Regions from separate parts of the Homo sapiens genome. Here all the other regions are linked to region 4. Evidence: promoter capture Hi-C in 16 types of primary human blood cells and fetal thymus (Javierre and others, 2016). All regions are on one chromosome and are shown on one strand. The core of a region is centred on a gene start or on the middle of the fragment in contact, and the rest is flanking DNA. Distances in the headings are between cores, read along the strand shown.

Region 1 (3,322 bases), core at 604-3,103, 160 kb before region 4:
CTCATCTGGCATAGGAGTGTGCCTTTCTTCATCCTCCCTTAAATCCCAGCATTCTAGAAAAGCCCTACATTTGGAAATGACTTAAAGTAATAATCTCTTTTGAACAGATGGGAATTTTTTTTCTCCCAGTCATGGACCTAGCTGCCTGAGGCCTTCAGGGATTCACTATCTTCTTCAATAAAGGCTATGTTCTTTGTCTCTTCACTCAAGTCTTGGGCCCTCTTCTTTACGGCCTGGCTCTTGACCTGATAGTGCTGATCAAGTGGGATGGTTTCTTCTACATTTCAAAAAGTTCTCCTAATGCGCTACTGCACAAAGAGTATCCCACAGACCAGCTGCTAGTCTGAGAACTATTTATCACATGTTTACAACAAGATAAGGAGTATTGTCCTGAATGTAAATTAACCATGTCACTAAACACTCTGTTTGTTCAACTGACTTGTTCCTTTTAATAGAAAGACTTTGTTGAAGAAGGAAATGAGGAATTGATTTACATTCTGGTGAAAGTTCCTTATCTTTTTATGGTCCAGTACTTTGAATAGAACTCTCTAGAGGTCTTGTAACAGACCATTTTAGGCATGCTTATCTTCAGAAATGAAGCAGGCTATGTTTTATCTTCAGCGCCTTTTATTTATTATTATTATTTTTTGAGATGGCGTCTCGCTGTGTCACCCAGGCTGGAGTGCAGTGGTGATCTCGGCTCACTGCAAGCTCCACCTCCCGGGTTCACGCCATTCTCCTGCCTCAGCCTCCCGAGTAGCTGGGACTACAGGCACCCGCCACCACGCCCAGCTAATTTTTTGTATTTTTTTTTTTAGTAGAGATGGGGTTTCACCCTGTTAGCCAGGATGGTCTCAATCTCCTGACCTCGTGATCTGCCTGCCTCGGCCTCCCAAAGTGCTGGGATTACAGGCGTGAGCCACCGCGCCTGGCCCAATGCCTTTTATTATCTACTTTATTTGAACAAAAATGGTCCTACAGCTTGGTGGGTCAAAGTAAATATCACTTTCATTCCTGGGGCTCCTTCTTCCTTAATTAAAACTCACTGACTACTCCCATGTATTTCTCCCTTCTTGAAAAAGTATTTCAAAGCCAGGCGTAGTGGCTCACGCCTATAATCTCAGCACTTTGGTAATCTGAGATGGGTAGGATCACTTGAGCTCAGGAGTTTGAGACCATCCTGGGTAACATGGCAAGACCTGGTCTCTACAAAATATATAAAAATTTGCCAGCCGTGGTGGCTTGCACCAGTAGTCCCAGCTACTTGGGAGGCTGAGGCAGAAGGATGGCTTGAGTCCAGGAAGTCGAGGCTGGAATGAGCTATGATCACGCTACTGCACTGCAGCCTAGGTGACGGGGTAACACTCTGTCTCCAAAAAAAAAAAAAAAAAGTATTTCAAAATAATCCTATCTTCCCCTAGCAGACTTTCATCTTTCTCTCAAAGAAGTGTGGTTCCTACTTCTGTGTGTGGTTCCTACCCATGTTCTGTTAAGCAGCTTACCCAGAAGATACATGTCTAGTGATTAGGTTTCATTTAGACAAGAAGAGTTGGAAAAATCCAAGCCCTGATATATAACCTCTTTTCCACCAGAATTCTGAGAAATCTCTTCAACATGAGGTCTGATTTTTTTTTTAAACCTTCCTTCTTCCTTCCCCAACCTCTAACAGGAAGATTACCAGATACTTAATTGTAAGTAAAGGTCATTATTTGTAAGTATCACTGTTAGGTTGTAGAACAGTAGATTGCAACAGCCATTTTTTTGTGTCTGTGTGACTAGCTCCTATCAGAAGGAAACTTTTTCATTGAAACGTTTTCAATGGTTATGTTATAAAGAGGCAGAATTTTCCTTGAACTCTAAAATTACAGCCCACTTAGATAAAGGTAAAGGCAGACACAGTAGGAATGTTTACACATGTTCCCCTGTCTAGAATCTATAGGGGAACCATGTGGCCTTTACACCTCGACTGTTGCTTGACAGTAACAATTTGGTCCAGAAGCCTACAGCAGGTGTTCTCAGCTTGAGTTCACTTCCTACTTCCCAGGAGTCCAGCTGGCAGCCATTATTTTATTCTACCTTGAGAAGGCTAGTTTATTTATTGGTAGGCTTATTTGCTAGTAATAATTCATTGAGTACTTATTTACTAGGCTCCATTCTAAACACTTTACATTTCATTTAATTCTCATAGCATAGTTATTTATTATCCCTGTTTTACAGATGATAAAACTTTTTATAGTCCCAGGGAGATAAACATTAGCACAAAATCACACAGTTAGTGATAGAGCTGAGTCTATGTAACTCCAAAAGTGGTGGTTCTTCCAGTGCCCCATCCTGTTTTCTCTAGGATGCTTCATCCCTGCCATCTGTTTTATTTCCTGACTCTCTTAAAAGTCCTAGGCCAGACCTTCTCCAACATCTCACTTCCTCTCCCAAATCTCAGTGAAATTAGGCACTAGACATGGTTACCAAAGATCACTTAGTGGTTACCTGAAAAGTGCCTGCCCTCTTGTTTAGATGATAGAACACAAATGTATACAGGATCAAAGTTTAAATAAAAATGTTTAGATTGCACTAGGTAAACATCTATCCTAGCCATTGAAGATGATACATAGTCAAAGAATAAAAGTTATTCATAACTAACTTAAGCTCACTTTGTAGGGGGAGAAACTAATAAAATATGTAGCAAATGGAAACAAATTTAAAAATTTTTGTAAGTGAAAATTGTACTTAAGACTTTGATTCTTACAAAAATAATGTGTTTATTTTAAATAGCCCATCTCTGTAAGGCTCACTGTTATTTACTAAATGCTTTCTCATAAATTCACTCCACTGTTTTTTTTATTCACACAGAATTATTTCCTAACGGATGTTCAGCGTTCAAGAAAATTACTCCCAATATAGATGAAGAAGGAGCAATGAAAGAAGATGCTGGGATGATGGATGTCCATTATAGTGAAGTAAGGATTCCAGGGCCTGCATTGCCAGTTATATAAATTTCACTTCTTAAAATTCATATATATTAAACAATTATTACAGCTAACCTAATTTTGAAGGTAACTAAGGGTTAATGAACTTTAAGTATTAAAACTGTCCAGGGCAAAGATGTTCCTGTTTAGAGGGCCCTGTCTCTTGAACTGGTCCCATTGTCTAGTTTTAGAAATACAGCATTTGCCGTCCTCAAGTCACCATTCCAATAACTAGATAAGAGTCAACACATGTTGGAAATTTTTCCATAAAAAATAGAGTTAACATTGCTCTTTACTTCAACTAAGACAGACTATGCACAAAAGTATTTTTAAATGGAAAATTTCTGCTCTAAACA
Region 2 (2,975 bases), core at 86-2,585, 220 kb before region 4:
GTCAAAACACACATTTCATTATTCTGGTTCCTGATGTAGTCCATGCTGTCTACAGAATCAGTGTATATGGGTTCCACATAGGACAGTTGGACTCCCTTGCCAGTGAAGTGCCATGGTAAATTTGGGTACTGAATGCCTGAGACTATTGTTCTGCTAACTTCCTGCTGCTATCTTTTCTTTATCAGTTCACATCTTTATTATTTATTTATCTGTATCTTTTTCAGTTCATACCTTTATTCCTGCTTATTTCATTAAAATGGAGAAGCAGCCCAACTTCATAGAACACACTAGTCAAAGTCGGAATCAAATGAATCTTTAGCTAGTTGGGCATAAATGGTGGCCTACCCCATGTGCTTGTGTACATGGCAGATTTACCTGGTTTTGCTGCTTTGTATAGTGGTCAAGAGCTGCTGAGCCTGGGCATTAGAATACCGGATAAATAGGTCTGCAAGATACAGGAGGAGGGAGAGGTAGAGAGCTTGCATTTGAGGATAATGAATCAAATTTCATATGGCTGTTTCCATCTGTGTTCCAGGATCTGCATGTGCACAAATTCTTCCATCATTGCCAGCTGATTCAGTCAGGCTCGAAAGAAGTTCCAGGGGAGCTCATTAAATATTTAAAGGTAAATGAACAGCAGCTTTCTGCAAAACGTTTGTTTTTCATGTCTTTCTGTTGCCACATTTTGGTGTGAAAAAAAAAAGCAAACAGACAGTTTAAAATATTTTTGGCTGTATTTCCTCAAGAGAATACTTTCTATGATGTATTTTTCCATCATGTGGCTGTTTAGAAGCAGACAGCAGAGTGGCAACATTAGGAAGAAAATGTAATAGCCACAATGCAGCATCATATTTTTGAAACTCTCATGAAAATGTTTATTTCAGGTCCATAAATTGATTTTTCAGGGGCTTTCTCTTCCTGCTGACTGCCCAATAAAGGTGGAGGATGCTGTGGGGGAAAGGGCCAGGAGGAATGGAATCACTTTGACTTGGAATGAAATGTGAAATTGTTCTTGTGTCCATGGGTGATAGACTAACAAAGGGGCTAGCTAATGAAAGACACATATTTTATGCATGTTGGCATATTGTATCTTACCACATGTATAGAGGACCTAACACTTGGTTTTTTCCCTGTGTGCTAGGACTACAGTGCATATCATAATTTGCCTGACAGTGGCTCTCTTCTTTTAATTGTTCCTTTAGTAAGATAGCTATAGCAAGTCTGAGGAAATATTATTTTAAATGAAACATCTTTAGGATTTACCTTTGGACATATGCTATTACTTAATGATATACTCAGGAAACAAAAATGTTCATTTCTTTCAGAGAGGTAGTATGAGATGAGATCAAATATATGGGTTCTGGAATCATAAACTGAGCTTGTATCCCACATGTCACTTACTAGCTCTGTAACTGACCATGACCAAGTTACTTCTCTGAGCCTTTGTTTCTTCATCTGTCATGTGAGGATAACAATAGTGCCCATCTTGTAGGGTGGTTGTGAGACTTAAATGAGATGATGGAGCTGGGCATGGTGCTTCACGCCTATAATCCCAGCACTTTGGGAGGCCGAGGCAGGAGATTGCTTGAGCTCAGGAGTTCAAGACCGGCCTGACCATCATGGCGAAACCCCGTCTCTACTAAGAATACAAAAATCAGCCAGACGTGGTGGCATACGCCTGTAATCCCAGCTACTCAGGAGGCTGAGGCAGGAGAATCGCTTGAACCTGGGAGGCGGAGGTTGCAGTGAGCTGAGATTGTGCCAGCCTGGGTGACAGCGAGATTCTGGTTTGTTTTCTTTTTTTTTAAAAAAAAAAAAAAAGAAAAAAGAAAAAGATTAGGGCATCTGCCGGATAGTAATCGTTCATGCCACACTTATTTCTTTAGTGCTTCCTATGGGCCAGGCATCATTCTAAGCATTGGAAATTTAAGTGGAGAAAACAAATAATATCCCTATTGTCAAAGAGCTTACTTGTTGAGACAGACAATAAACACATAAGTTAATAAATATATACGTCATCTCATATGGTAATAACTGTTATAAAGAAAACCAGCACAATGAAGGGGAGCAGGGATTTACAAGGGGTCCCTGTTTTAAAGTGGCCAGAGAAAATCTCTCTAGTAAAGGCACATTTGAGCAGAGACCTAAAGGAAATGAGAGTGCCAGCCATGTGGATTTCTCGGGGAGAGCTGGGAACAGCAAGTACAAAGGCCCCGAGGAGCTTGGCTTGGTGTGTTTGGGGAACAGCAAGAATCCCAGTGTGGCTGGGACACAGAGTGATAGGACATTACCTTGGGGAGGTTGCTGGGAGCTTGTCGAGTAAGGCTTCATAAGCCATGGCGAGGAGTTTGAATTTACTCCGAGTGAGATAGGAATATGGAGCTTTGGACAGAAGTGTGACATGATGTGACTTTGGTTTTTAAAGTGTCATTCTGCTTACCATATAGAAAACACACTGTTGGAAGAGTAGAAGGGAGACAGTCAATAAGTGGTGGCTATATGGCTATATGTTCTTAACTATCATTAAGACGTATAATAGGCCAGGTGCAATGGCTCATGCCTGTAATCCCAGCACCTTGGGAGGCCCAGGCAGGCAGATTGCTTGAGCCCAGGAGTTCGAGACCAGCCTGATCAACATGGTGAAACCCATCTCTATAAAAAAATACAAAAATTAGCCGGGCATAGTGGCACACACCTGTAATCTCAGCTACTTAGGAGGCTGAGGTGGGAGGATCGTTTGAGCCTGGGAGGTTGAGTCTCCAGTAAACTGTGATCATGCCACTGTACTCCAGCCTGGGCCACAGCGAGACCCTGTCTCAAAAAAAAAAAAAAAAGAAAAAAGTATGATAATCATCTAACTTTTAAATCCTTTCCTCAGGTAAATATCTAGGACTTCAATATGTATGAATGCTTTGTTAAGGTTTGTTCTTCACATGGGAAAGTTTTATAAAAGTTTCAATCAAGTGGAATGGAAA
Region 3 (3,455 bases), core at 183-2,682, 180 kb before region 4:
GCAGGCCCGGCTTCAGCATCTTAGTAGCCTAGAAAGTTCATTTACACTTAATCACAGTAAGTGAAAATGTGTGTGTGGTACCCATTTGACCTTAAAGAAGTCCTGGTTTAAATAATAAAAACTGAAGGTGATGGATACCATAAATACCTTGATCATTACACATTATATGCATGTAACAAAATATCACCTGTATCCCTTAAATATGTATGAAGAAAAGAAGTCCTGGTTTAAATTGCCAATATGATGGGAAATGATTTCCCATACATGTGTTTGCATCTCTCTGCTATGTATATAATCAATTTCATCATACATGACTATAAAATGATAAAATACACATGGATTTTTGAACAATTTTAGGTCATGATGTTTTCTTCTTAGTGTTAAAGAAACTAAATTTTTCCCATGGAATTGCTATTCTCATAATATTTTTATATTGAGTATTCTTCATTCCTACTGTTAGACTTCAATGCAAATATTGACATCTTAATATAATAGTATATGTAATATTTGTTTAGTTACTTTTGGTCATTTAATGATTAGGGAATGAACATGCTGAGTTGACTGCAGAAATCGGTGAATCCTAAATACTAGTTTGGCAAAGGTGTATTTCAGACAGGTTGAAGTATTGACAAGGCAAATAGGGCAAGGAGAGAAATCTTGCCCAACTGCGGAAGCTAGAGGGTTATATAAATGGAAGCTATCCTATGAAAAGCAAATATTAATAACAACTCAAAGAGTGAGAATGTTTTGTTTCCACACAGTCCTCTGAAGGTTTCAGAAAAGGAAGCCAGCAAAACTGGCTTTGTGGTAAGACCTAGTAATAAAAAATAATGTTTTGCTAGACCCTGAACTAATAGACTCAGGACCTTTAAATCTGCATGTTTTAAAGCCTTCAGCTTCTTGTAAAAATATGATGAACCACTTCCTTCAGTTGCCTCCAAGATACCTTGTTTTCCTTCTGATTTAGAAACAAATGTCATATAATTGGCATAATTGAAAATGTCTGACCATAGGGCACTACTGTTTATCTGTAGCTGAATTTCTATTTAGTGGTTTCTCATTTTTACCCACATAATTAGTGGCATGACTTAGAAGGCCTCCCACATTATTTCCTAGTTACATCGCCAGAGTTCATCACTGAAACCTTGTCTCCAAAGAGGTGGGCACCTAATTATGTCCTGCAGAGCTGTTGATACAGAACTGTAATGAAAACTAATGAAATTGATTAACCCAGACTATATTTGATGAAGGAGTTAAATACAGTATGACACTGTGAGCCCTCTTTTTTTTGAGACGGAGTCTCACTCTGTCACCCAGGTTGGAGTGCAGTGACGTGATCTCGGCTCGCTGCAACCTCTGCCTCCCGGGTTCAAGTGATTCTCCTGCCTCAGCCTCCTGAGTAGCTGGGATTGTAGGTACGTGCCACCATGCCCGGCTAATTTTTTGTATTTTTAGTAGAGACAGGTTTCATCATGCTAGCCAGGCTGGTCTTGAACTGACCTCATGATCTGTCCGCCTCAGCCTCCCAAAGTGCTGGGATTACAGGCATGAGCCACCGCACCCAGCCGAGCCCCCTTTCTTGTCTTAAGTCTTTGGGTAGAAAGTCATTCAACACCATTATGTGCATCTTCGTGTTGGGAAAAGTTTAATTTACTTTTTTAATCCTAGGTTCTACAACAACTGAAGCAGACATTTTCCACCAGGCACTTCTTGAAGGCAATACAGCTACTGAAGTTTCCCTAACAGTACTAGACACCATATCATTTTTCACTCAGTGCTTCAAGGTAAAAATGAAGAGTTATAATTCAGTTGGTACCATTGCAAAGTAACATTATGCAGAAATTACCTAGTCAATGTGGGGTAGTACACTGAAAAAGGCTGGCATGAATAGTCAGGAAATGTGGATGGCAGTTCTAGTTTGGTTATCATGTGACCCTGGAAGTCACTGAGACTCACTTGTGTCATCCATAAAGGGAAGGGAGTGGACTAACTTGCCCTTAAGCTCTCTTCTACCTCTTAAATTCTATTAGATTTTCGTATTTAAAAACAAAGTTTCCATACTTTAAGTAGCCAGCAATTTTTAGCCCAAAATATGATTGGATCTGTTTGCCCAAATACCCATTGTGATGAGATGTCCTGTCAGGGTAGATGATGTCCGGGCAGTCTGGCTGGCTTCCCTAGGCGCGCACTTAGTGTTTTTTCTCAGATGTTTGCCTCTCAGTGCAAATCATCATTGCTATGATTTTAAAAAGAAGGTAAAAGCAGTTATCTAGCAGGATTATTGGAGGGGGAAATGGGATAATGGACGTGAGAGTGCTTTGAAAAGTAAAAACGGTGTGACCATAATGTAAGAACTCAAAGGTGAAAATCTTGCTTGCTTTCACTTCAGTTATACAGATTTTTTTTTTCCTTTTTCCCCTCTTCTCTAAGTAATTAAGTTAATTGCTTCAGACCTCGAGATTTTCTATGGAAACCTGGCCTGTGCTTTTCAAAGAGGCTTATAAAGGAAAATTGAATTAGATACTAATATAAAATAGGCTGCAGAATACCTTTAATAAATAGGCTACAGATCCCTTTATGAAGTATTAGGTTTGTTCTATATTAAAATGCAACACAACTCCATGTTTCATCGTGCCAATAACTAAGAAAGCCATTAGATCTCATGATGTACATTGTATTCCTTCCTCCTATTCTGATACCTCTAATTTATTTAACAAACATTTATATAGTCTCTTGGTAGATATCAGGCACTGTCCTAAGTGCTTTACAAATATTAACTCACTTTTTCATTGTGAGGCTGGGAATGAGAAAGGGGAGTGATCTTTTTGAAACAATGGAAATGTTCTAAAATTGGATTGCGGTGGTCACCCAACTCTGTTGCCGAATTTACTAAATGTAATTTAATTGTATACCTGAAACTGGTGAATTTTATGGTTTGTAAATTATATCTCAATAACTTAAAAATACAAATATGAACTCACTTTTAATCCTCATAATAGCCTTATGATGTAGATACTGTTATTATTCCCTTTTGATAATGGGGAAACTGGGGCCCACAGGAGGTTAATGTCAAATAGCTGGGCAGTGGCAGAATCAGGATTGAGATCTAGGCCAGTTATAAGAGACCATGATTCTAGCCACTATACCATGCCTTGAAATATACTAAGGAAAGTGCCAGAAAAATCAAACACCATTCAGGGATTCTGGCTGTCAGTATTATCATTAGATTGTTGTTGTTTTGGGTTTTGTTGGTTTTGGCCAAGCTGTAACCTGCTGGTTACTTTCTTGAGGGTTAGCAGGATAGGGCTGGAGAAATTAACCATTGCTGATTAAAACAAAGTTGACAAACTAAAAGGTATTTCTCTACAATTTGTTGTTTCTTTGCAAGGGACATTTAAACAATTTACATAGTCTGTTCAATTGTGATACCTGTTAATTATCTCTACTCATAGAGG
Region 4 (3,049 bases), core at 550-3,049:
AGGAAATTTGGACACACTGAGAGAACCCAGAGGCACATATGCACAGAGAGGATGGCCAAGCAAGAGGGCAGCCATGTGCAAGCCAAGGAGAGAAGCCTCAGGAGAAACCAACCTTGCTGGCACCTTGAAGTTGGACTTCCCAACCTTCAGAACTATGAGCAATACATTTCTGTTGTTTATAAACCACCCAGTCTATGGTATTTTGCCATAGCACCCCAAACAGACTAAAACAGCACTGTAACAAATTATCACAAACTTGGCTTAAAACAAGAGAAGTTTAATTTCTCACAGTTCTAGAAGCCAGAAGCTTAACATCTGTTTCTCTGGGCTGAATTCAAGGTGTCAGTAGGACTGTGCTTTATTCCTTGCCTCTTCCAGTTTCTGGTGGCTGCTAGCATTCCTCTGCTTATGGCCACATCACTAATCTCTGGTCATTGCCTTCTCTTCTTGGTGCACCAACTCTCCCTCTTTTATAAGGGCACTTGTGGTTTAGATTTCAGCCTGCCTGGAAAATTAAGTCAAAAAGCCTTAACTTAATCACACCTGCAAAGACCATTTTACTTTATAAGGTAACATTTACAGGTTTCAGGGATTAGGACTTGATACATTTGGGTGGCCATTATTTAGCTTCATACAGAGTCCGAAATCTTTGCATACAATTTCAGGAAGATCATGGATTCCAGGTAGGCACATCTGCTCTGGAGTTGCATTTCACCACAGATACCTGTGGACAGATATTGGAGACAGGCTCATTTACTTATTCACAAACCTTGCTACAACTCAGAACCAACCGCAGCGCCGGTTAAAAATACTAAATACAAAACCACATCACAACCGCTAGTCCTAGTAAATCTGAATCCACCAGAGTTGGGGCCCAGAGCCTACATTTCTTTTCTTTTCCTTTTTTTTTTTTTTTTTTTTTTTTTTTTTTTTTTTTTGAGAGGGAGTCTTGTTCCCTTGCCAGGCTGAAGTGCAGCGGTGCGATCTTGGTTCACTGCAACCTCCGCCTCCCAGGTTGGAGAGATTCTCTAGCCTCAGCCTCCCAAGTAGCTGGGATTACAGGCACGCGCCATCATGCCCAGCTGATTTTTTTTTTTTTTTTTGTCTTTTTAGTAGAGACGGGGTTTCAACATGTTGGCCAGGATGGTCTCGATCTCTTGACCTCGTGAGCCGCCCGCCTCGGCCTCCCAAAGTGCTGGGATTTCAGGCGTGAGCCACCATTCCCGGCCAGAAGACTGCATTTCTAACAAGCTCCCCCAAATGACTCTGATGTCTTGCCCCCATACTTGAATGGGTATTGGTTGAGAGCCTTGTTCTCCAGCTCTCCTCTCTGTTAAATGGACATACTGCTACTTCTTTCACAGTAAAAGAGGAGATGTGTGTGAAAGCCTGTTTCCGCAATGCACGTGCTAATGCTCTTCCCGCCCCTTCCCCTCTTCCCCGTCTTTTCCCTATACCAAGGTGAAGAACTTTTATTATTCACTTGATTTTGGACCCACTTCGTGTTTAATGCACCTGGCCTAAGATGCAGAGTTGAGCCCAGGGAGAAGGGACGGGTTGGGGGAGGAAGAAAGAGTCGCAAATTCCCAGGCAGATTGGCTCCATCGGTCTAATCAAGCTGCACTTGACGCTCCGCGGGCCTGCTGCGCCCCCGCCCCCTCAGGCGAAAACTCGCCTCTGCCCAAGGCTGTGCGGGGCGTCCGCCCCCGCACTTCGCTGATTGGCCGCACTAGCCCGCTCGTCACGCTCTTTTGTCTCAGCTGGCAGAGGATAAAAGCCGCCGCGGCTGCCTTAGGAACGGCGCTGCCTCGTCTCTGCTACCCCTGGTTGGGCGGCCCTGCGAAGCAGCTCCTTCGGGCAGCCCCGGGTCGCTTAGCGGCCAAGGAGGCTTCAGTTCTTTGCCGCCTGCAAGGCGGAGACCAGAAGGCGGAATCCACAGCTGGCGACGCGGGAGCATCTGCTGTCCACCAGCGGAGCACAGGTAAAGAATGGGGGTGTGATTGCCCGGCGGGGAGAGGGGTGGGGGAAGACCCACCAGTACTGGGCGGCTCCCAGCTTGGAGAATCGGTGACTGTGAGGCAGGGGTAGGAGTACTCTCGTGGCCCGGCTGCGCTGAGGGAGGAGGTGGGGTTCACCTGGATACTGCGGGCTAGGTAGGATTTGCCTGGATTTGGGGGTGGGAGGAGAGGCGAGGAGTAGCGGGGGGAGGAATCTCGAGCTGTTTGCTTCGAACATCCTTTGCATCTCCTCATCTCTTTCTGGGAGGAATATGTGGGTGGGTGTGTCCAACTCCTATTCCCTTTCTCCGTGGCAGGCCATCAAAGCCGCATCTGAACTTGAATTCTGTGCAGCTGATTGCAGAGCTGGTAGGCCGACGGCTTCCCGGGGGAAATGTAATGCTGGAGGGTGGGGGGCTGGTCTCTGGCTTATAGTCAGGAGGGGGCAGAGAGAATTTTTCGCCTGGCAACAGCGGAGGTGGTGGGTAGCAGGATGACGGGTGAAGCTGCTTCTAACCCTTCCCTTCTCTGGCCTTCTCCGCTGTGGCGCAATCTTGAAACCTCAAGGACCCGGATCTGCGACCCCCTGTGGACAGAGGTTGACCGTACCCCGGAGAGGAGCTTTCTCACGGAGGGCACTGGTTGCAGAGGCTGGAAGTGAAATAAAGACGCGCTCTTGTTTCAGAGTTCGTGTAAGAATCTGAGAAATAACAAGGGGGACGGGCGTGGGGGGCACTTTGAGAAGGGGGTGTGGTTGAGACCAGAGACCATGAGGTTAATGAGATCTTATTTTATTTCCACAAATCTGCGATCATTGTACTCTATTTGGAGAGCCCAATATCAGCTCCAGACACTGCTACACCTAGAATTTGAAGCAACAGTTACCGTCCCTCTTGGAGGACTGGTGGGAGGGATGGATGTGGCTGCAAAAAGCACCTTGCTAGCACGCAGGCATCGGGTAGCTCTGGGAGGTTGTAAGTGTCAATCTCCTACAGGATTATTTTTAGGGTAGTGGGCAAATATAAAATGTACTGCAGGATATTCAGGTAGGA
Region 5 (3,112 bases), core at 145-2,644, 250 kb before region 4:
AATGTAATTAAGTGCCGAAATATATAACCCTAGCACATGCCCTGCCACATCCTGGGAGCTTTGTAAGTGCTGGTGGCTGGGGTAGAGGACCTGGCCCATTTTCTAGCGGGAGGGGCCAGCAAAGTGGGTAAGAGTCGCCCTGGGGTGGGGAGGCATATTCATGCCCCTTGGTGGGAAACAAGGACTGGGCCATAGACCTTGTCCTAAACGGCCAGACCTCCAGCCCACGTGGGATTTCTGGGTTCTCTCTGGCCACCTTTTGCATTCTGGGGACAGGGAGAGGACCAGAAGCTGTTGGGACAAAAGGTAAAACAACCCCAAAGAGTGTCCCCCATCATTGGAATCCCTGGTCAGTTAGAAAATGGACATCTCTGTGCCTCAGCATCCTTATCTGCAAGTGGAGGTGGTGACAGTACCTGTCTCCAAGGGCTGTGGGGAGGCACAAATAAGGTGCGTGGTTCTAAGAAAACACTCAGCACTGTGATGGGCACACTGGGTTAGCGCAGTGCAGCGTAGCAGCCAGGAGTAGTAGCACTGACAGTGATCTCAAACAAGTGAAAACAGCAAGCTTTTATCAATTATCAACTATCTTAAAATTATAGTCCTCATTGCTGGCATCAGTAGGAAATGCTTAGAGTACTGGGAATGGGAAACAATAGGTGCTCAGTAAATGTTAGCTATAGCAATAATCAGTATTACTGTTCTCAAACTCCTGGGCTCAAGCAATCCTCCCGCCTCAGCCTCCCAAAGTGCTGGGATTACAGGCACGAGCCACCACACCCAGCAGTATTACTGTTCTAATCAGGCCTCATCATATGAGATGTTGGGTGTATGGGACTCAGGGCTGAGAGAGAATATAGCATGGGCTGTGTAATCTGGAAGCCTGAACTGCAATCTTCTTCACCCACTTACTCACTGCACAAACCTTTCTGAGCCTCCACTTCTTAATCTATAGAATATGTATATAGTAGTGCCTACATTTCAGGGTTTTTATGAAGACTGAATGAGATAAAGCATGAAAACCATCTAGCATGGTTATGTGGCAGTTAGCGTAACACTGCACTCAAGGTGCACTGCTCAGCATACCTTCTGCAGGGACAGCCCGGGCAGTCTGCCAACCCGTTCAGCCTCACAGCTCAAACAGCATGTTCCCGGCAGTACCCGAAGCCAGGTTCTGTGACCTTGGGATGCTTTGGTGGGCCACCTGGGTAATAGCAAGGTACCTGATGTGCATTACTTCATTTAATCCATACAAGAAATGTATGAAATCACTACTATCCTGCTATTTCACAGATGAGAAACCTGAGACTTAGAGAGAATGTGACTTGCTTAAACCCATAAATGTTGGAGCCAGAACCCAAGAAATTTGACAAGCAATTTTGAACCACTTTGTTCACTTTCTCAAGCAAATTTGAACCACTTTGTTCCATGCTTGCTGCTTGGGAATTCAAAGCTGAATCAGCCATTACGCAGGATCCTTATAAGCTGTTTGACTTGGGGGAAATCATTAGCCTCTTAACACTCAATTTTCTATTCTGCCCTGTCTACCTCCAAGGGTTCTATCTGGTACAAATGAGATAATGTGTCTGAAATGCATTGGAAACTGGAAATCACTATATTAACAAAGTTGGTAATATATCAAGGAAAAAAACGAAATTTTGGTAGAGACTCAGTGATAGATTTTTCCACTTGAATTCACTAGTGATGCCCCTTTAAACAACAGGCATAACCAACTAACATGCTATGTAGATGATATTATATTTGGAAGGAGTCAAACTGGACAGGAGGTGTTCCTGTTCCACATGCATTCAAAGAAAAATGTAATTTTGGTTGCATCTACATTAGTACATTTAAGTAAAGTGTATGGGGACAAAATGAGTTTTGGATTCTCTGTCTCCTACCTTTGCATTGGAAGCACCAGAGCTCTTGAACTGCAACAAAGGAATGTCTTTTAGAGGATGATTTAGTTTTTCTATATTAGAGCAGTAAAGTTTCTTTTTCCTTCTTAGTGGAAATAAATATTAGTTAAATATTAATTGCTCTTGAGTTACATGCAGCTGCATTTAAAAATGTATATCTAGTTCCACTCGAGAAATGTACTCACTTCGCATACACAACCAAACCAAAGAGGCAAAGCAGCAACGGTGACACCTGCGCTATGGAGACTAACAGATGTGAGGTTGGTGACAAAATATAAAATCCATTTTGAAAGGAACGTTGGAAGCTTTGAAAACTCTATGAAAGGAAATTCTATCTATTTCTAGGGTCCTGGACATGATCCTTTGTTGAATATGAACATTGTTTACTAAAAATCGTTAACCATAAACAACCATATGCACAAGATTACATAAGAAAGTCTAACGGAAGTACTTTTTTCCCAGGGAATTTTCTCAGTGACGAATCCACATCCTGAAATTTTTCTAGTTGCCAGAATTGAAAAGGTACTACAGGGAAACATTACACACTGTGCAGAACCCTATATCAAAAATTCTGATCCAGTAAAGGTAATTTATAAAGGTTGTTGATCAACATTTCACCTTAACGTAGAATTTGCCTTTTACTGATATTTTAAATGCCATTGCTTTGAGCATGCTATATATTCTGAAAACATTGTATACTGTGTATGTTTGCTAAAACTTGAACATGGCATATTTTCCTATTGTCATTGATGTTCTGTTAATGTGATAATCTGATTTCTGCTTGATTATCAAAATAAGAGCCAAAAGCTTTTAGGCAACATCTGCTAATTGACACCATATCCTTGACAATAGCCGTTCTTTTCCTTACAGCCCTACATGAAGTGCTAGAATGAATCTCAGAGCTGGGAGATTAAAGATGATCCAGTCCTATAGTTCCCAAATGTCAGTTCATACCCAGATTTACTCCTGTCTGTGATGAAACGAGAAAAGAAAGACAGACAGTGAACATTTCATGAAGCTAAATGTATTTAATTCAAAGGGCTGCCCTTTATTCTGAGATCTTTGCCCTTCCTACTTTTTAAAGGTTATGCGTATCTTCCTTTCATGAAATGTTGGCATATTAAATGGCAGGGATTTAAAAAATTATTGTTGAGTGTCCTTAAGTGGCAATATTAAAAGTTGGCAACCCTATA
Region 6 (3,464 bases), core at 416-2,915, 200 kb after region 4:
TAAAGGAACCAGATGGCCGGGCACGGTGGCTCACGCCTGTAATCCCAGCACTTTGGGAGGCCGAGGCAGGCGGATCACTTGAGGTCAGGAGTTCGAGAGCAGCCTAACTAACATGATGAAACCCTGTCTCTACTAAAAATGGATACAAAATTAGCCAGGCTTGGTGGTGTATGCCTGTAATCCCAGCTACTTGGGAGGCTGAGGCAGGAGAATCACATGAACCTGGGAGATGGAGGTTGCAGTGAGCCGAGATTGCACCACTGCACTCCAGCCTGGGCAACGAGCAAACCTGCGTCTCAAAAAAAAAAAAAAAAAAAAAAAAAGGGAACCAGATAATCTATTATTTTACCTAAGTACTGCCTTTGCTTCTAGTTGCATGGGTGAAATATTTCAATGTATGGGGAGAATATAGGGTGAGGAGTAAGAGTAAGCCCTGATTTAGCTTGCTTAGTGCTAGTTTGAGTCCTTCAGTGGCAGGACAGCCTGTAAAGTACCACAAGTATGGGAGTGTTATAATGGCAGAGTGAAACGATTAGAGCAGGGAGGAAGTGAATTGTGCCATTAGTACCTTCATGCAAATTATACCATGTGATTTTGGACAGTGAATGATTTTTGCATCATTCATTCACAGCCCATCACTCTGTTAAGGTGAGAGTGTAATTCTTACTTCTCCCATCACCACCTGTAGCTAGAAACAGGAAAGGGAGAATGAGATGATCCAGACAACATAAAAAAGATGCATGTAAGCAGAAACCAGATGGTCTTTTCTGCACTCACTTAATGGACATTATGTTGCCAGAGTGTTGTGTTTATCAGATTTGATGTTTGGAGCTAGTCTGGGCAGGTGAAGAACAGAAATAGGCGGAAGTATAGGCATTATTTCTGCGCAAGCAAACTCCACAAAGCTCAGGGAGCAGAAAAGACTCCCCCTCCCACCTGGTTCCCAGACCATGTGGTCATAACACAATCCTAATAGTTTCTGGTTATCTAGTGTAAATGCAACAAAGAAAAAGGCCCTAAGCTTCTCTACTTATTAGATATATTATTTTTGGCAATTGATTTAACTTTTGCCAACCCTCAGTTTTCTAATCTATGAAATGATAGTGATAAGTTCTGCATATAGGGTTGTTACGAAAATTAAATGAGATAATGTGTAAATCAATTAGCACAGTGTCTCACACCTAGAATGCACTCAAGAAATAATAGCTACTATTAGATTAGTCATAGTTATAGAATATCATCAAGGGCCTACATTTGTATAAAACACTGCCTTTACACACAATATCCACTTGAAACCCCTTTAAACTTAGTTGGGGGAATACATACCACTGATTTTTGGACCCATAATTTGATGATTTACAGATAATTCTTTTGGGAATTAAATGTGTGTGAAAGTGAAATAACTGGAGAACAAATGAGGGTCAGAGATAGGGATCAATCCTATACCAGAAATTTTTTTCCTGCTTCAATAAGGGCTAGAAGGTAGTGCCCTATGTAGGTCTAGGATTTCTTTCTTCCTTCCTTCCTTCCTTTCTTTTTCTTTTGTTCCCTCCCTCCCTCCCTCTCTCTCTCTTTCCCTCCCTTCCTTCCTTCCTTTCTTTTTCCTTTCCTTTCCTTTCCTTTCTTTCTTTTGTGTGTGTGTGTGTGTGTGCGAGTCTGAGTCTCACTCTGTCACCCAGGCTGGAGTGCAGTGGCTCGATCTCAGTTCACTGCAACCTCCGCCTCCCAGGTTCAAGTGATTCCCTTGTCTCAGCCCCCCAAGTAGCTGGGATTACAGGCACGCACCACCACGCCTGGCTAATTTTTGTAGTTTTAGTAGAGATGGGGTTTCACCATGTTGGTCAAGCTAGTCTCGAACTCCTGACCTCAGGTGATCCATCTGCCTGGGCCTCCCAAAGTGCTGGGATTACGGGCGTGGGTGTGAGCCACCGCACCCAGCCTAGGATTTCTGATAGAATGGAAGCCTTAAGTTCTAGCTCCATTAGAATAACCAACTTTTCACTCCCTGTTCTCCAAAATGTATTGAGAACCTTACCCATCCCAGATGATGAGAGTTTACAATCTGTGACTTCTGTTCTTAGTTGATAGTATTTCTTTATGTTGCCCAAAGTAACAGATTCAACAAAAAATGTACTGAGATCCCCATGTACCAGGTACTGAGCCAAGTGATCTCACATACCTGAGCTCATTACATCATTTATTTCTCATACCAACCCTGCGAGAGCAGTTATTATCCCCATATTATGAATGAGAAAACTGAGCCTCCACTATGTTAAATATTTTGTCTAGTTGCAAGGCAGGATGCAAGGCTAAGCTTTGGCTTTCTTTGGGATGTACCTTAACGAGGTAATCAATTGGTCTTGAACATTTTTACACTGGGAAATTGGTTTTGCTGCACAGCTTGGGAATGAAGGGTATACAGAAGAAAGACATAAGGCTAAATCTAGGCCAGAAAAATAAGACTTCCCCCACAGTAGATAGTGCCACTTATTTAGTTAGTTTTTCTGTCTATCATGACTGACCCAGTCTTTGCCTAGTAGGTTATATTTTGTATGTATGTATGTATGTATGTATGTCTTTGTGTGTGTATGTGTGTGTGTGTATGTGTGTGTGTATATATATATATATATATATATATATATATATATATATATACACTAGGTAGCAAGCAGACATCATATCTTTCTGCTTTGTACTGTACTACTGCTGCTAGCAAATAACCAGCAAAATGTAGAAAATGAAAAACCAATTTTCTGTAGACAACCTGGAGAAAAGAGTGCCTGCCCCTGACTTAGCGGGGCAGAGAATGACAATTTTTAAAGTTTGCCTTTTCTGAAGGTTGCTTTTAGCCCAGTGCTGCCTCAGCAGCAAGGGGCAAGCAGAGTCATTGCGCATGTGGCGCTTCCAGCTCTACCTGTGGAGCTGGCCTGGGCTCAGATAATCCCCTGTGACTGGCCATTGGAGCGGCGGAGCTCCTGAGGCTAGTTCACAGCACCCAGAGGTCTCTTACAGTCAACAGATTGCATACTGTTGACAGACTGCAATCCGTCTGTGTTCCCCACACCAACTCCATTTCCAAGATGGGAATTTTATTCAGGAACTCATTTTTGAGTTCCCAACATGTTGACTTCGCATCCATTTCTGCTCACCAAGGCAGAACCATAGCAGTGGTGTGTGACAAAGATGCAAATGGAGGGCAGCCCAAACAATGGAAAAGAGAAGATTTTCAGCCCATTCTTGGGGCTAAGTGAGGTTTTGATTTATGGTAGAAGACAGTTCTAAAAAGCAGCTGGCAGCATGGGCTTCAATTTGTGGCCCTTCTGAGTTCAAACAGAAGGAAGGAAAAGGAGCCACATAAAGTGTACACATTCAATTCATCTTAGAATGATAGCTCCCACCTTATTACACTGTACAACTATTTAATAATCTGGGTTACACACATCCAGAGGTGAAATAAAGAAATT

Evidence for each region. The method cuts DNA at HindIII sites, captures the fragments that hold promoters and counts their contacts. A CHiCAGO score of 5 or more calls a contact.
Region 1: a fragment that was not itself captured here is called in contact with the fragment with the promoter of ZCCHC12 in region 4 in 1 of 17 cell types (neutrophils); the score reaches 5.9 in neutrophils.
Region 2: a contact is called between a fragment that was not itself captured here and the fragment with the promoter of ZCCHC12 in region 4, in 3 of 17 cell types (naive B cells, M1 macrophages and neutrophils). The highest score is 5.1, in naive B cells.
Region 3: a fragment that was not itself captured here is called in contact with the fragment with the promoter of ZCCHC12 in region 4 in 1 of 17 cell types (endothelial precursors); the score reaches 5.8 in endothelial precursors.
Region 5: a fragment that was not itself captured here is called in contact with the fragment with the promoter of ZCCHC12 in region 4 in 1 of 17 cell types (neutrophils); the score reaches 5.1 in neutrophils.
Region 6: a contact is called between a fragment that was not itself captured here and the fragment with the promoter of ZCCHC12 in region 4, in 1 of 17 cell types (naive B cells). The highest score is 5.1, in naive B cells.

The regions. Positions count from the first base shown.
Region 1 is chrX:118,659,836-118,663,157 of GRCh38, forward strand. DOCK11 (dedicator of cytokinesis 11) reads left to right here. Exons shown (of 53, transcript NM_144658.4): 45 at 2,851-2,957. Among named protein-coding and RNA genes, the nearest start is that of IL13RA1, 66 kb to the right of the region's middle. The HindIII fragment of the contact is 5,270 bases long and covers 1-3,322 here.
Region 2 is chrX:118,598,604-118,601,578 of GRCh38, forward strand. It overlaps DOCK11 (dedicator of cytokinesis 11), which reads left to right. Exons shown (of 53, transcript NM_144658.4): 23 at 536-625. Among named protein-coding and RNA genes, the nearest start is that of DOCK11, 100 kb to the left of the region's middle. The HindIII fragment of the contact is 6,728 bases long and covers 1-2,975 here.
Region 3 is chrX:118,639,522-118,642,976 of GRCh38, forward strand. DOCK11 (dedicator of cytokinesis 11) reads left to right here. Exons shown (of 53, transcript NM_144658.4): 38 at 1-56; 39 at 1,669-1,784. Among named protein-coding and RNA genes, the nearest start is that of IL13RA1, 86 kb to the right of the region's middle. The HindIII fragment of the contact is 5,304 bases long and covers 1-3,455 here.
Region 4 is chrX:118,822,025-118,825,073 of GRCh38, forward strand. It overlaps ZCCHC12 (zinc finger CCHC-type containing 12), which reads left to right and starts at 1,800. Exons shown (of 4, transcript NM_173798.4): 1 at 1,800-1,981; 2 at 2,315-2,366; 3 at 2,565-2,689. The HindIII fragment of the contact is 2,857 bases long and covers 306-3,049 here.
Region 5 is chrX:118,576,144-118,579,255 of GRCh38, forward strand. DOCK11 (dedicator of cytokinesis 11) reads left to right here. Exons shown (of 53, transcript NM_144658.4): 13 at 2,382-2,504. Among named protein-coding and RNA genes, the nearest start is that of DOCK11, 82 kb to the left of the region's middle. The HindIII fragment of the contact is 1,656 bases long and covers 567-2,222 here.
Region 6 is chrX:119,018,839-119,022,302 of GRCh38, forward strand. No RefSeq gene overlaps it. Among named protein-coding and RNA genes, the nearest start is that of LONRF3, 46 kb to the left of the region's middle. The HindIII fragment of the contact is 1,293 bases long and covers 1,020-2,312 here.